Regions from separate parts of the Homo sapiens genome. Here region 1 is linked to region 2. Evidence: promoter capture Hi-C in 16 types of primary human blood cells and fetal thymus (Javierre and others, 2016). All regions are on one chromosome and are shown on one strand. Each heading gives the region's core, a stretch centred on a gene start or on the middle of the fragment in contact. The rest is flanking DNA. Distances are from core to core; before and after follow the strand shown.

Region 1 (3,664 bases), core at 608-3,107, 160 kb before region 2:
CTTACCTCATGATCTGCCCGCCTTGGCCTCCCAAAGTGCTGGGATTACAGGCGTGAGCCACAGCGCCAGGCCGTTTTTTTGTTTTTTTTTTTTTTTTTTTTTTTTTTTTTTTGACAGAGTTTCACTCTTGTTGCTCAGGCTGCAGTGCAATGGCATGATCTCAGCTCACTGCAACCTCCACCTCCTGGGTTCAAGCGATTCTCCTGCCTCAGCCTCCCACGTAGCTGGGATTACAGGTGTGTGCCATCATGCCTGGCTAATTTTCTATTTTTTTAGTAGAGATGGGGTTTCACCATGTTGGTCAGGCTGGTTTCGAACTCCTGACCTCAACTGATCCACCTGACTCGGCCTCCCAAAGTGCTGGGATTACAGGCCTGAGCCACTGTGCCAGGCCAACTTGGTAGTTTCTAATAAGTACTTGTCTAGCAGAGAATGCCCTTCTTGCTGGATATGACTAATGGTTTTTTGGGTTTTTTTTTTTTCCTTCTGCAGTCATTTATTTACTCATTGCTTTTTTGACTAGATGCCTTATTCTGAAATTGTCAATTACAGTTTTCAGATTATCATGAAATTCAATTATGCCCACATATGACATTTATAAATTTTGCATGTTAATTTATTCCTTTGTTTTATATGCTAAAGATGTGTGTTTATATATGCCAGGTGTGGTGGCATGCACCTGTAGTCCCAGCTCCTGGAGAGGCTAAGGTGGGAGGTTCCCTTGAGACCAGGAATTTAAGTCCAGCTGGGCAACAGAGTAAAACCCTGTCTCTAAAAAACAAATAAAAGTGAATTTAAATAATATTTTTGGCCAGGTGTAGTGGCTCATGCCTATAATCCCAGCACTTTGGGAGGCCAAGGCAAGAGGATCTCTTGAAGCCAGGAGTTCAAGACCAGCCTAGGCAGCAAAGTGAGACCCTGACTTTATAAAAATAAAAAATAACTGTTTTTAATTTAAAAAATTAAAAACTATGTTTTAAATGCTTAAATATTAAAACCTTGATTACCATACCTAGAAAAGTACTTGAAAGCTTTACATAGAATATGCCATAGATCAGTAACTTAGGTTCAATCATTGATGGAGGGCTGGAAATGTAATTTTTAAAGTGGGGAGAAAACTATTGGATCATATAACTAAGTCATTCAGCTTCAGAAATGGATAAAAGAGATAAAAATATAATTAGAAATCTATTTTTCTTTGTCTTACCACCGCTTTCCTCTGTACTTCCTTTATTTCTCAACAAGCTTTCTTCATATGGTGGTAGAGATGACCACCAGTATCTCTAAAGGTAGGAATCCCAACAAAGAAAACCCCTTTCCCAGTGGTCCCAGCAAAAGTTCCAAGAAAGCCCTGATTGGCTAGGTCTCTGTCACAGTCCCCATTCCTGGAAATAAGGAAGAGAGTCAGTCCCACCCCGACTACATAGAGTGAAAGTGTTCCTATGCAACGCGGGATCTATTTTCAGTTTGGAATCAATGTGGAAATTATCCTGTAAAAAGAATCTTAAGCTTAAAACCCTCCTTTCAACATTTCCCAGGGCAGAATACTGAGACGGCTGAGCAGAGCACACAAAGAAAATAAAGATTCAGCCTGGGCGCAGTGGCTCACGCCTGTAATCTCAACACTTTGGGAGACTGAGGCAGGTGGATCACCAGAGGTCAGGAGTTCAAGACCAGCCTGACCAACATAGTGAAACCCTGTCTCTACTAAAAATACAAAATTAGCCGGGTGTGGTGGCCCATGCCTGTAATCCCAGCTACTTGGAAGGCTGAGGCAGGAGAATTGTTTGAACCCAGGAGGCGGAGGCTGCAGTGAGCTGAGATCATGCCACTGCACTCCAGCCTGGGCAACAGAGACTCTGTCTCAAAAAAAAAAAAAAAAAAAAAAGAAAGAAAGAAAAGAAAAGAAAAAGAAAAAAAGGAAAAGAAAGAAAAGAAATATATATGGAAGAAAGTGAAAACCTCCTTGGAAAGCAGTGTGATCAGCACTATTACTTAAACTAACAATGCGAACAGTGGCAGTCAGACTGAGCCCTCAGTCCAGAGAATGGGAGTAAGCCACTATCAATTGTTTTAAAACACTCCATCTATAAGATCCAAATTTTAAGAATCCTTATATACTGCTATAGATAAAGACAACCAGTTAACATTTTTAGTTAAGATATGGCACCTAGAAATAAGCAGACCAGAAACATAAAAGCTTTTATAGAAAGCAGATTCCTGAAGTGCATGTTGCACTTTTCATCAGCACATCTTTGCAAGATGCATGGCTTCATGTGAAACACATAATCTTGTTTTTTCATAGAGATGGTATAGTTTGGTTAGAGCCTCATAAGTATATTTAAGATAAGTTAAATACTAAAAATGGCTTTTAACAAATTATCTGAAAGACAAATTATATCACATATTTAGCACTATGTTTCAGGCACTGTTCTAAACACATTATAAATATGAAATAATTGAATCCCTTTTAGGTATTGTTTTCATCATTATACAGATGACAGAACTAAGGCACAGAGAGGCAAAGTAATTCACCCAAAGTCACACAGCCAGTAAGTAGCACGATAACGTTTTAAATGCAGGGTACAATGTATGTTATTTTGGAGATGGATACACAAAAAAGCCCTATGCATGACTTACCAAAAATAAATAAATAAATAAAATTTAAAAATAAAAGAAAAAGGCCAGGTGCGGAGGCTCATGCCTGCAATCCCAGCACTTTGGGAGGCCGAGGCGGGCGGATCACCTGAGGTCGGGAGTTCGTGACTAGCCTGACCAACGTGGAGAAACCCCGTCTCTATTAAAAGTAGAAACTCACTGGGTGTGGTGGCGCATGCCTGTAATCCCAGCTACTCGGGAGGCTGAGGCAGGAGAATCACTTGAACCCAGGAGGCGGAGGTTGCGGAGCCGAGATCGGGCCATTGCACTCCAGCCTGGGCAAAAAGAGTGAAACTCCGTCTCAAAAAAAGAAAAGAAGAAGAAAAGCCCTGACTTCACCACTACTCAATATATACATGTAACACTTGTACCCCATAAATTTATACAAAGAAAATTTTTAAAAATAAAAGAAATAAAGCCAAGCAAACTTGCTCTAGAGTCGATATACTATCTCTATGCTATGATGCTTCTCTAAAAAAGTACTCAAATTATATGACTGGCCAGGCGCAGTGGCTCACGCCTGTAATCCCAGCACTCTGAGAGGCCAATGGGGATGGATCACCTCAGGTCAGGAGTTTGAGATCAGCCTGCCCAACATGGCGAAACCCTGTCTCTACTAAAAATACAAAAATTAGCCAGGCATGGTGGCACGCGCCTGTAGTCCCAGCACTCAGGAGGCTGAGGCAGGAAAATCCCTTGAATCCAGGAGGTGGAGGTTGCAGTGAGCAGAGATCGTGCCACTGCACTCCAACCTGGGTGACAGAGCGAGACTCCATCTCAAAAAAAAAAAAAAAAAAATATATATATATATATATATATATATATATAGTACTGCCTTATCAACTAGGAGATGGTGGTTTTAAATTTCATTTTACGTGCATAAGAATAACAATTTGTTTTATTATATCTTAATGATTTTTCTGTAGGTGGAAACATTTTTGGAATAACCAACAAATTTTAAAGTTAAAAGACTAAATCTATCATGCCCTAGTGCTTTCTTTAAAAA
Region 2 (3,481 bases), core at 515-3,014:
TGGAAGTATTAATTTAGTATACTTGTGGTTTCTATTTGCCTGTTTTCCCTTTGAGAGCAGTACACTCCTTTTATTTCTGAATACTCTGCATCAGAGCCCCTTGTCTGGCATGTAGAATATGTTCAATAAATGTTTATTGAATGCATAAATGTATGTTCTCATTCTCTTTACACATCTTGATAGCATGCTAATGTTCATTTTTTATCAGGTAAAGCAAGAAGGGGAGGAAGTTGAACCTTAAATTTGTTTAGTGACTTTATCATGGTCACAGAACCACTACTTTTTTGGTATAGGGAGCCAAGGATCCAAATGGAGACTGCTACTATTTTGCGCAGCATTTCCCCACCTTGTATCTCATGGCCAAACTTTTCAACGCCCCAGATGCAATTTCAGCAGTTAAACGCATGATTTTTCCCCATGAATGTGTGTTCGTGTGTGTGTGTATTTTTAAGTATCCCTTCCCTCACTTTTTGGCACTGGTGCTGCTTTCTGCCTCCAATCTCTCCTCTCTCTGTTTCAGCCTCCACACTACAGCCAGAATCTGCTCTCTAAAATGCAATTGTGATCATGTTACTTCCCTATTTAAAAACCCTTCAATGGTTCACTAATGTCTTGCAGATTAAATTCAAACTCCTTGGTGTGCTAAACAAAGCACTCAAATATCTGGCCCCTTCTACGCGCTTATCGCTCATCATACCCTCTCTTGCATTCACTTAGCTGGTGGTATCAAACTTCTCAACAGTTCCCTACACAAGAGCCTGTTTATTGATCCTTCAGCCTGGAATTACTTCCCTTACCCGACTCAAGACTCTAGCGCCACCTTTGCTATGAAGTCTCTCTTGACCATACTCACAGATAGAACTGATTGTTCCTTTGTGTGTATGCCCACACCCTTACAGGCCTGGATCTTAAGTCTGTTATCACTGCGTTGCGCTTATTTACAAGTATCCGCTGTCCCACCCACGCTCCACTTAGGCCTCTTTATACCCCTAGGTACTCACACAGAGCTTGGCACAAGTGATGCTTTATAAATGGTCAATGAATGAACGTAGTGGAAACACAGAAGAAGAGGGAGAAGAACTGGGGAAGAAAGAAGCTCTGTGGAGAGAATACTAATTGTTTTGCACATGAAAATAATGAGTTGTGAGGGAGGTCAAAAAGGTCAAAGGGAAGAGCCCTGCCTTACAGGAACTCACTGTCTGCTGGGAGGCAAGAGGTAAGGTCCGCATACCAAACACACGAAGCAATGAGCTTATCGGGGTGAAAATGGCTCGTGCACATTATAGTATCACAGAAACTTAGAGGCTGGGGGAGGATGGAGAGGAAACTGGCCTAGTCAAGTGTCTTCTAAGTGTTAGGCGGTTTTCGAGCGTTAAACAGTTTAATCTTTACAACCACCCCATGATGAGGATAGTAGCTCCATTTTAGGGACGAAGAAACATGCTCAGAGAATTTAGGTTGCCCAATGTCACAAACTACCATGTGGAAGGACCATAATTAGAATTTAGGTCAACTGCCTCCAGAGCCCTGAGGCTTTCGCTCCCCCTCTCTCGGCGGTCGAGACCCACAGGGCTCCCATTCACCTGCGCGTCGGCCTGCGCTAGCTATAGCCCTCAGGCGCGCCGCGTTCCGCGCACTCACACCACCCTCTGCGCGCCAGCCCTGCGTCCCTCCCACGCGAACTGCGCCGGCGCGTCCAGCCCTCCCGCCCGGGGGAGGGGCGGGGTTGCGTCGCTGCCGCTGACCCTTGAGCGCGCGGCGGCAGAGGCGGTGTCCAGGCTTCCGGGCGGGTAGTCCTTCGGCTCCGGAGCCGCGACTGCGCTCGCCTAGGTGGTGGGCGGGGAGGGAAGGAAGGGAGCGGGCGCAAGGCGGCGGCGGCGGCTGCGGGTGAGGAACTTGTTGCGCCCGCGGCTGCGCGGTGCCCCTCCCTCCGCTCCAGTTCGTCGGGGCGGGCGCGGCGGCGGCGGCGAAGGAGGAGCGCGGCCGGGGCGATGCGGCGCTACCTGCGCGTCGTGGTGCTGTGTGTGGCCTGCGGCTTCTGCTCGCTCCTTTACGCTTTCAGCCAGCTCGCCGTGTCCCTGGAAGAAGGAACGGGCGGCGGTGGCGGGAAGCCGCAGGCCGCGGTGGCTTCCTGGCTCGCGGGCGGCGGACGCGGCGCCGTGAGAGGCGCCGGCGTCGCGGGCCCCGCAGCGCATCCCGGCGTGTCGGACAGGTACGGGCAGTTCCCGGTGTGGGGGACGCGGCGGGCGCGGGGCGCTGGGCGCGGGCTCGGCCTAGCCCGGGCTGCTCGCCGGTGGGTGCCGCGTCTCCCGCGTCTTTCCTCCTGTCTCTGACCCCTCACTCATTTCCCTCCTTCCCCTCCGGCCGGGGCTAAACCTGCGCTGCTCCCGCCTGAGAGTGTCCTACACTTTCTGTGTTTATCTTTTGACCCAGTCATGCGCCCTTTAAAGCAGTTAGAAATTAATTTTCAACTTTTTAAAAAGAGGGTTCTTTGAAAATAAGAGGTGTCCACAAAAGCCTTACTGCTGCCTGGCTAGTGAGAATTTCCTCTTGTTTCAGTGGAGTTCAAGTTGAGATATTTAAACATGAGGCTGGCGCCCTAGTTCAGTGTTTAAGGATTGTGTGTGTGTGTGTGAGTGTATATGTGTGTGTATTTTGTCCCTCATGCTGATTTTCCTGTGTTAACGCTTACACTTCTAAGTATTAGCCATGGTTAGTTAAATTTGGAAATGGCATTTGTGCGGGTTGTGAAATTTTCTTTTGGAAACACTCAGTTTATTAAGAAACTTAGAGCAAATTAAGAAAAATGAGCGATACTTGGCGTGCTCAAGTCTGTTGTTGGATGGGATGGAGTTACCTTTCTTGACAAATTGGTATTTAAAAAGCGACGTAATGACTTAGGACGTAATCACTGCCAGAGTGGGAATCAACATGAGATTTAAATAGAAAAAAAATGTTTCTGTCAACGCATTATGAATGCTTGAAATCTGAGCGTTTGCACTGCCTTGCAACATGGACACTTCCACCTTATGTATGGGCATCTCTCTGGGAATGACCTGAAGTGCTCCCTACCAAGACTTGGCAAATGCTGCTTTGATATAGAGAAGTATAGGGTTTGTCGGAAGAGGGAGTATAGATCAGTTGTGGGCTGTTGTTTAACATCATTTTGAGAGTCGATGGTCATTCCCAGAATGAAAGGGGAAAGTTTGGGCAGAGGAGCAGCGTGGAAAGCGGACTTGTCATGTTTTTACCCTGAGATTTGATTACAGTCAGGGTAATTCCTACATCAGGACCCTCAGTTGTCTGTCCTGGGAGAAAGCAGTCACTGAAGACTTGAATGAGCTCGTGAAAAATGACAGGTTGAAGCTAAACTGTTTATGGCCTAGTATGTTATTGTGAAGCATTTGCAATTATGGAAAAGGAATTATTTTTATATGGGGTAGAATTGTAAGGAAGCAACATTTTAATTAAATATTGAATG

Evidence for each region. Contacts are between HindIII fragments. The CHiCAGO score rates a contact against its expected background, and 5 or more counts as called.
Region 1: a fragment that was not itself captured here is called in contact with the fragment with the promoter of GXYLT1 in region 2 in 1 of 17 cell types (activated CD4 T cells); the score reaches 5.6 in activated CD4 T cells.

The regions. Positions count from the first base shown.
Region 1 is chr12:42,305,362-42,309,025 of GRCh38, reverse strand. It overlaps LOC124902921 (a long non-coding RNA gene), which reads left to right and starts at 2,474. Exons shown (of 2, transcript XR_007063280.1): 1 at 2,474-2,552. The HindIII fragment of the contact is 691 bases long and covers 1,512-2,202 here.
Region 2 is chr12:42,143,157-42,146,637 of GRCh38, reverse strand. GXYLT1 (glucoside xylosyltransferase 1) reads left to right here and starts at 1,764. Exons shown (of 8, transcript NM_173601.2): 1 at 1,764-2,212. The coding sequence starts at 1,992. RefSeq lists an enhancer at 1,337-1,406 and silencers at 1,567-2,066, 2,147-2,376. The HindIII fragment of the contact is 13,899 bases long and covers 1-3,481 here.